2 separate regions of the Homo sapiens genome follow, and region 2 is linked to region 1. Evidence: promoter capture Hi-C in 16 types of primary human blood cells and fetal thymus (Javierre and others, 2016). All regions are on one chromosome and are shown on one strand. Each heading gives the region's core, a stretch centred on a gene start or on the middle of the fragment in contact. The rest is flanking DNA. Distances are from core to core; before and after follow the strand shown. Region 1 holds the start of MAGED2 (MAGE family member D2). Region 2 overlaps WNK3 (WNK lysine deficient protein kinase 3).

Region 1 (4,603 bases), core at 1-2,500:
GCCCCGCCCGCTTTCCCAGCACGAGCCCTTTCTTTGATGTCCACCGTGCACATGCGCATTCAGCAGCTGGCTCTTCTCAGTGCTGGCCCTTCTCAACACGCCCCTTTCTAGCGAAACATAGTGCGCATGCGCAATGGTCGTGGTCTCAGTCTGGCACTCTGCCCCAACACACGCCCCTCTCCAGGTCCGCAGTACCATTCGGTCCCGCCCCCTGCCCAACAAGCCTTCCTCCAAAATTGTCGCAGTGTCTGGTGGACCCGGCCCCTCCCCTACTCACGCCCTACAGAGTCCAGTGTCTCTTGGCCCCGCCCTTCTTCCTAACACGCCCCCCTCCAAACAGGCGCATCTTGGTTCCGCCCCTTCCCTATTACACCCCCTCCTCAAATAAATACTGAGCTAGTGATTCCATCTTGGGCCCGGCCAAACCGGGTCCAGTCCCCTCCCTTCCCAGCCGGATGGATCCGGTACGATCCGGTCCTTAAGGCAGGTTTTCTCCAGATCCCAGAGGGTGGGGCCGACCCCTAGCGGGGCTCTCATCCAAAAGCCGACCCGGCTGCTCACCTCGTCCTCCTACAATTCCCGAGTGCGTCCACTCACTCCAAGCCCCTCCGAAACTCGGAGACTGCCCTCCCCTCTCTAGGCCGGAAGTGGTCCCGCCCCTTTCCGCCTCCCTAGGGGGCCTCCGTCCCAGCCTGTCTGCCCCTCCCCCGCTCCCTGCTCCTCATTCCTTATGCCCCCCTCCGTATTCCCTTAGCCTGGCTCCCTACTCCCTATTCCTACCTCACATTTCCTATTTACTCCAGAATTCCTTCTTCCCATTTCTTACATCCTCCTCCGTGTTACGTTTGCACACCCTGCCCCTCAGTATTCCTTAATCCCTCTCTGCATCCCCGATTCTCTTCTCTGGATCTTCACTCCCCCTCAGTGTTCCCCTCCCTCCTTGTATTCCTCGTCCCCCTCCCAACATTCCTGGTTCCCCGTTTTTCTCCCCTCCTCCCTCCGCTAGTCTCTGCTCCCAGTCTGTACAGCCTACTACTTTCTCAGTCGTCCTCATTGCCTACACCCCACTCCAGGTCACCTCTGCTTCAGCTGCAGTGGTGCAGTAAGAATTGCTCATCTGCCTGGCTATGGGTTCGAGGGGTCTGGAACCACTGTCTGACCTCCATAAAACCCCAATATCAACGCCCCTCACCTTGTCCTCCAGCGAGTTCGGGATGCGTCTGCCTTCTCTAAGTCCCTCTCGAAGTCTCAGCCTCCTGGACTAGAGCTGCAGACAGCCCAACCCAGCCCAGCCCCTTTCCGCAGCCCCCTGCCACCCCCCCTCGCCTTCCTCGGGGGTGGGGCAATGGGGCCCCGCTCAGGGCTGTCTGACGCCAAAGCCCATGTTTATGCCACTGTACCAGGCTCAGTCTGAAGCTCTTCCAACTCAAACCGCCCCCTGAAAGCAAGTCATTCATTGAATTTATTTTTATATCTTCATTTTTTCTTATTACAAAGGTAATATGTTGTTCTTTTGTTGTTGTTGTAAAAATTCAAACAATGCAGTAATATATAACACACCAATGAAAGGCCACTCATCTCCCAGAAATAACCACTATTAACATTTTGCTATCCAGATTTTTTTTCTATTCGTATACTAATTATTCAGGTTCTCTCTCCGACAAATGGTACACTATACATACCTTCTGTTCTGCGACCTGTTTTTTTCCAGTTATATATAAAACATCTTTCCGTTAGTGCACATTTTTCTAAACAGCTGCATGATCTTTTCTTGCATAGATGTCCCATAATTTATTGAACCAGTCCAGTACACATGTACATTTAGATTGCTTGGTGCACTTTTTGTTATTTATGGTATTTTTTGCTAGCTCAAATGCTACAAAAAAGTCTTCCATTTTGATGCAAAATTTGTCAACTTACTCCTAAAAAGTAAATGGATAACATTCCCGCCAGCAATGTCTCTCCTGTACATGTCACATATTACAAATATTTTTCATGTTATTTATGATAATTTTTGCCAAACAAAAATGTTTAATTATTATGTAGTCAAATATATCCATTTTTCCTTCATCACAACTGGATTCTGCTGCTTGCTTAAAGATGCTTTTCACACTCCTATAACAAACCCCGTTTTTTTTTTCAAGCACTTTTGTGGCTTTATTATTTACATTTAGATGTTTGATCATTTCAAAATTTATTTTCTATACGGATTCAGCTTGATTACTCTTCAAAATCATAGTCTCTTACCTCTACATCATGTGCAAACTAATCCATCTTTTCCCTCTCTGCTTTGAAATGGCACCTCTATCACATAATAAATTCACATAACCAATTGGATCTGTTCAAGAGAACAAAATAAGATGTAAAATAATAGGAAATAGACAAATCATCATTAATTACTGAATATATAAATGCAGACCTGGAAAACCCAAGAGCATCAACTAAAAAGTTATTAGAAACCATAATAAAATTCAGCACAACTGTTAGTTGCAGAAATAATATTCAGTGCCTTTCCACATATAAATGTAATTCAAATGGACACAAGTCTTCTGCTTTATGTGGTCACCTTTTACTATGTAAATAACATATAATGAATCCCTGTGTTCCATGGATAATTCAAGATAGACAAACACACAAATTTCTTGCATATTCAAGGCAGGCTTCTGTTTTCCTGTCTTTTCTCTTTCTCTGAATTATTGCTTTCTCCAAGTGTGTGATATCAGTTCACCATGTTCTTGCCTCCTAGATTTTCTCCCTTATCCACACTAGACATAGCCCCTCCTTTTCTTCTACTTCTGGCATCTCAAATTCCCCACCCCTTCCAAATCATGGCAAGTTGGCAAGTTTAGAATGCCAAGATGAGGACTTTGGTGTTGATCCTGAGAGCACCCAGGAGTTACTAAAGAATTCTAGGCAAGGATACAGCATAGGTTTGTGTTTTAGAAAGAACACCTAGCTGCTATATGGAGTGTGGATTAGGTGTTGTCTTGGAAACAGGGAGAGTGCTTATGACTTTTGTAGTCATCTAGGTAAGCAATGATTGTGCTTTGGCCTAGAGTGGTGGCAGATAGTGAGAAGTGATTGAATCGAGGAGATAGTAAAGAAGTAAAAAGTAACTGGACTTGAGTAACTGGATTGTGAAGAGAAGGGCAAGGAGGAGGGGAGTGTCAAAGGGAACTCTTGGCGATCTGATTTGAGAGATTGTGTGAATGGTAACCCCTTTCACTGAGATCAGGAATACTGAAGGAAGAGCGGGTTTGAGGAGCAGGTTAGACAAGAACTGAACATTGCTTTTGAGGCACCTGTGGCATGTCCAGGTGGAAATGTACCACAGGCAGTTGAATATACATATCTGAAGCTCAGAGAAGTGGTCTAGGCTGAGGTTATAGATCTAGGAGTCATCAGTACATAAATAGTTCTTGAATTCCTGAGAAAGGGTAACAGCACCCCGGTGAATGCGTAGTGCTAGAAGAGACATGGGCCCACGGAAGAGCCCTGCAGTCCAACAGCATCTTTGGTATAGGTGGAGGAAAAGAAACTCATGAAAGAGGCTGATAAGGAGTGACCAAAGAGGCAGAGAGAAAAACAGGAGAGGGCCGGGCATGGTGGCTCACACCTGTAATCCCAGCACTTTGGGAGGCTGAGGTGGGCAGATCACCTGAGGTCAGGAGTTCAGGACCAGCCTGGTCAACACGGTGAAACCCCATCTCTACTAAAAATACAAAAATTTAGCTGGGTGTGGTGGACCACACCTGTAGTCTCAGCTACTCGGGAAGCTGAGGCAGGAGAATCGCTTGAACCTGGGAGATAGAGGTTACAGTGAGCCGAGATTGTGCCGCTGCACTCCAGCCTGGGTGATAGAGTGAGACACCATCAAAAAAAACAAACAAACAAACACAAAAAAAAAAACCGGAGAAAGGAGTGTCACAAAAGTAAGGGAAGAGATTGTTTCAAAAGGAGGGAGGAGTCAAGGTCAATAGTGATGAATGGTGCCAAGAATCAAGAAAAGTAAGACCTGAAAAAATGTCTGGGGATTTTGACGATCAAGTGGTGGTCTCTGGTGACCTTGGAAGGAATAGTTTCAGTGCACATGTTTGTGGCATAGCTTGCTAATTGCTTACCCTAGTATTCATCCTCCTCTTCTTCCTTAGTAATAAGTCACCTGATTTTTAGCTAGATACATAGCCTCCCAGAATAAAGGCCATGAGGACTAGGGTCACACTCTAAGGATACTGGATTAGTAAACTAAAAAGAACCTGGATCCGTAACAATTTCATGAAGCCAACGTGAACTGCCTACCTCTGGATTTCTTTTAGGTGAGGCAAATAGATGTATGTCTTATTTAAGCTATTGTTATTTCAGAGTCTATTCCATGCAACAGTTTCCTGATTGCAGTGAGTTGAGATATGAATAGCAGGTGAGGTATACATGACAATGGGTATGGAATGCTTTCCCAAGAAACGCCTGAGCTTGATTTCAAGGCTCTCCCAAAATCCAGCCCTGACTGCTTTTCCAGCCCTTTTCCTGCTGTTTTTCTGAGAGTACTAGATATAGTTGCCTATATTCCACCTAAACAGAACACTTCACTATTACCAGATATGCC
Region 2 (4,603 bases), core at 1,067-3,566, 570 kb after region 1:
TATAATGTTAGTTTTCCCTTGGTGTTTAGTGATTCTTAGTTGTGTTCTCTTCTTTTTCACTCATGAGATTCCTTGTTCATCTGTCTGTAAGTGTTTTATGTAATTACCGTAACTTTCCTTCAGTAATTGTGGGAAAGGTATGGGACATGCTCCCTGGCACTGTATTTTGTAACTTATCTCTAATGCTGCCTGGAGGGTGGCCCAGTAGCTAGTCTCCAAATGTAGGAGGGCTTACCTTTCTTCCTGGATGTCGTCTCCTTCCTACATCGTTGACCTCTTTCTTGGCCACAAAACCTTTTCCTCTTACTGCTCTTATTTGGGGGCGCATGCCTCTGCTGCCCTTTGCTTGGTCTGGAGGTGGGGAGAGAAGGGACAGAACTGCCTGCCTGTTCCTTCTTTGTTATCCCAACCAGTTCATTCTTCCATTCAGTAAATATCTCTTTAGCAGTGAATAAGTCAAAACCTCTGTTTTTGTGGAGTTTACATCTAGTAGAAGAAAATGGATACTAAACCTATATATGGTAGTCAGGGAAAGACTTGTATGTGATGGTGACAGTCATAGGCAGAGATCTGTTCAAGGAACCAAAAGGCGGCCAGTAAACAGGAGAGCATTAAGAGATAACATTGAAAGAGACAGAAGATAGATCTGATAGAGTTTTGTAAGCATTCTAGCCTACCACTCATCTTTTTAGTTGGCCAGGGTTCTCTCCTGCTGCCCGTATCAGCCACTCAGGTTTGCAGCATTTTGAAACAATTCCTACATATGTCATGGTCTACTTTTTCCTCTGTCAGTCATATATGCATGTGTCTATGTATATTTTCCTGTTGTGTCTGTAAATTTGGATTGATAAGGAAGGCTAGAACAAATATTTAATTTGCCATCTTGATCCAGTTACTACATATTAAAATTCTTTTCTGTAATTTCAGTGGGACCAATGTAACATTTTCTAAATTGTAATACTGATTTTTTTCTTCTCATGAAACTAATTATTACTAGTTTAAAATGAGACTTCAGAAAGTAAAAACTGATTGCTTACAATTTTATTTTTAATATGTCCTGACCTGCCATAAGTTTGTGTTTGTTTTTTTGTTTTTTTTTTTTTGAAACAAGAGTTTCGTTCTTGTTGCCCAGGCTGGAGTGCAATGGTGCGATCTCGGCTCATTGCAACCTCCGCCTCCGGGTTCTAGCTATTCTCCTGCCTCAGCCTCCCAAGTAGCTGGGATTACAGGCAGGCACCACCACGACAGGCTGATTTTGTATTTTTAGTAGAGACGGGGTTTCACCATGTTGGCCAGTCTGGTCTCAAACTCCTGACCTCAGGTTATCTGCCCACCTCAGCCTCCCAAAATGCTGGCATTACAGGCGTGAGCCACTGCGCCCAGCCCTGCCCTAAGTAGTAATAATGCTTACCCAAGACATCATACTTACTGCCATGTAGGCTATCTTCTTTCAGGCAAATGCTAAATCCCATTCTTTGTGCTTTTATATATTTTTTTAATCTTCTAGATTAGTAGTGACCCTTCTCATGTTTCCCAAAATATTTGTGGTTGTCTGTGCTAACTTTTCATATTAATTATTATAGGGGATTTATCTTTAAAGCACTCATTTAGATACAACAGTTATATCTGGGGCCCTTTTGCGGGGAGTAGAAGGACAAGAAGAGGGGATTGATTTTATAGCCAGCATAGCCTGACGTTAACAAGAATTTTTAGAGCATGATTTTGAAGTAATTTTGATGTCCTTTATAAATTTCCCTATGCTTTCATAAAGTAAGAAACTTGATTTCCTGATACTTCTCTGTAAATCTAAGTGCCTAGATATCTTGTTTTTTTCTGTTTTTATGTGTTTCAAGCATCTTTAACTGAGTCTCTTAAATAATATAGGCATAAATGAAAATTTCCATGATAATAGCATGGAGTTTTAGTAACCTTTTTAGTAAACTGGCACATATGAAGGAAATTTTAATTTGATTTTCAGTTTTCAAAGTTTGTATAATGATGAAAAATATTCTGGGGTAGAAGATTAATAATCTTCTCTTTTATTTACTAAAGTCTAAATAATATTTTTAAAGAAACAAGGCTTTTTATAAATTGAGTACTTTGGGTTCAGTCTGATATGCTACTATTAATGCAACTATATACGTAATACTCTATTTTGGGTTAAAGATTAGTCTATACAAGAAATTCCGTTTTTTTTTTTTTTTAAAAGCTTCACCTTACCTAAATTATTACCACTTTGGTTTTTCTCGGTTGTTTTGTTTTGTTTTGTTTTGTTTTGTTTTGTTTTGTTTTGTTTTGTCTCCATTAGGAGATGTCCTCAGATGCTTCACTTCCAGGGGATCCAGAGGCCTATCCTGCTGCTGTGTCAAGCGGTGGAGCCATTCATCTGCAGACAGGAGGTGGATATTTTGGCCTAAGCTTTACTTGTCCTAGTCTCAAAAATCCTATTAGCAAGAAATCCTGGACTCGCAAATTAAAAAGCTGGGCATACAGGCTACGGCAGTCAACCAGCTTTTTCAAGAGATCAAAAGTCCGTCAAGGTAGTGTGCTTACAGTCAGGGACATAGACTAGGTAACATCACTTTTCATTTACTTATTTTTTTTGTTGTTCATATACAAATCTTGCCACTTTTTCCACATAGCCCATGTATGTGACATGTCCCATTAATGTCATTGCCATTTTATTTTTTCCTTTTGTAACTAATTTGGTTTTCCGGTTATTCATTTCATATAGATACTAAGTCTTGGGATAAATCTTGCAATGTCTGATTTAGACTTAGGGACTTAATACAATGTTGCTTATTACATTAACACCTTTTAATTGTCTAGCAGGAGTTAAGCTTTTTCTACTTTTCTTCATTTTTGGTAATGTAAACAAATTTAGTCTTAACAAACAATTTTCTCTTTTTTACTTACAATTTGGCAAAACTTGCAGTGGAAACAGAAGAGATGAGATCAGCAATTGCTCCTGATCCCATTCCTCTGACACGGGAGTCCACAGCTGATACTAGGGCTTTGAATAGATGTAAAGCGATGAGTGGATCATTTCAGCGGGGTCGGTTCCAGGTTTGTGTCTTTGATTGAATCCTTATCTACAAGGGCATTATAAAATATAACAGCCAGTGGAGATCTTGGTCTGTAGATGATACTTCCATTTTTGTTTTTATTTTTTTTTGAGATGGAGTTTCACTCTTGTTGCCCAGTTGGAGTGCAATGGTGTGATCTTAGCTCACTGCAACCTCCGTCTCCTTGGTTCAAGCGATTTTACTGCCTCAGCCTCCCGAGTAGCTGGGATTACAAGTGCGCGCCACCACACCCGGCTAATTTTTTGTATTTTTAGTAGAAACGGGGTTTCACCATGTTAGCCAGGCTGGTCTTGAACTCCTGACCTCAGGTGATCCGCCTGCCTCGGCCTCCCAAAGTGCTGGGATTACAAGCATGAGCCACCATGCCTGGCCGATGATACTTACTTTAAATGTAGATCATTGTCATATTTAATTTGTTCATCTTGCATGCATCCCCTCACCTTTTGAAGCCATCAGTAAAGATGAATCTAAAGAAATGGAGATTTTCATAGCTGGTAGAGAGCACAGAAATAGGTTTTCTTTTGGCGGGTGGGTGGGTCCTCTTTTATAAATGTAATTTCACGTCCTTTAGAATCTCAGCAACTCTAATTGTGGAATTTTATTTGAGCAATATGATGCCCACTCTCTTTACCCAAGGGGCCTGATTGAAAGAGTGAATTTGGGGGTATAGATTAAATTTTTAAGTTTTGCTAGTATCAATACATATACATCACAGCAGAGCATCTACTTGTCTGTGCTATGCTAACCACTTTTACGTTTTTATATCTCAGGTGATTACAATTCCTCAGCAGCAGTCAGCAAAAATGACATCTTTTGGAATAGAACACATATCAGTGTTCAGTGAGACAAACCATTCTAGTGAAGAAGCCTTTATTAAAACAGCAAAGTCTCAGTTGGTAGAAATAGAACCTGCCACACAAAATCCAAAAACTTCGTTTTCTTATGAGAAGTTACAAGCTCTTCAGGAAACCTGTAAAGAAAATAAAGGAGTTCCCAAACAAGGTGACAACTTCTTATCTTTCAGCGCAGCTTGTGAGACTGATGTATCTTCAGTGACCCCAGAAAAGGAATTTGAAGAAACTTCAGCCACAGGAAGTAGCATGCAGTCTGGATCTGAACTGTTGCTTAAAGAGAGAGAGATATTGACTGCTGGGAAACAGCCTAGCTCTGATAGTGAATTTTCAGCCAGTCTTGCTGGCAGTGGAAAGTCAGTGGCAAAGACTGGTCCAGAGAGTAATCAGTGCTTACCACACCACGAAGAACAAGCTTATGCTCAAACACAGAGTTCACTCTTCTATTCGCCATCTTCCCCAATGAGCAGTGATGATGAATCAGAAATAGAGGATGAGGACTTGAAGGTGGAGCTTCAAAGATTACGAGAAAAGTAAGGACTGTTTCTCTTTTGTCACAAATCTGGTTGCCCTAGGTTTTATAGAACTTAGTATTGGATTGGTAACTAATTTAGGATTGGTGACATTTTAATGATTGAAAACTACAAAGAATGCTAATGCTAAACA

Evidence for each region. The method cuts DNA at HindIII sites, captures the fragments that hold promoters and counts their contacts. A CHiCAGO score of 5 or more calls a contact.
Region 2: a contact is called between a fragment that was not itself captured here and the fragment with the promoter of MAGED2 in region 1, in 1 of 17 cell types (total B cells). The highest score is 5.6, in total B cells.

What each region holds. Positions count from the first base shown.
Region 1 is chrX:54,804,392-54,808,994 of GRCh38, reverse strand. MAGED2 (MAGE family member D2) reads right to left here and starts at 1,250. Exons shown (of 13, transcript NM_177433.3): 1 at 1,193-1,250. The HindIII fragment of the contact is 6,434 bases long and covers 1-4,603 here.
Region 2 is chrX:54,236,805-54,241,407 of GRCh38, reverse strand. WNK3 (WNK lysine deficient protein kinase 3) reads left to right here. Exons shown (of 24, transcript NM_020922.5): 18 at 2,309-2,540; 19 at 2,936-3,066; 20 at 3,857-4,470. Among named protein-coding and RNA genes, the nearest start is that of FAM120C, 56 kb to the right of the region's middle. The HindIII fragment of the contact is 209 bases long and covers 2,212-2,420 here.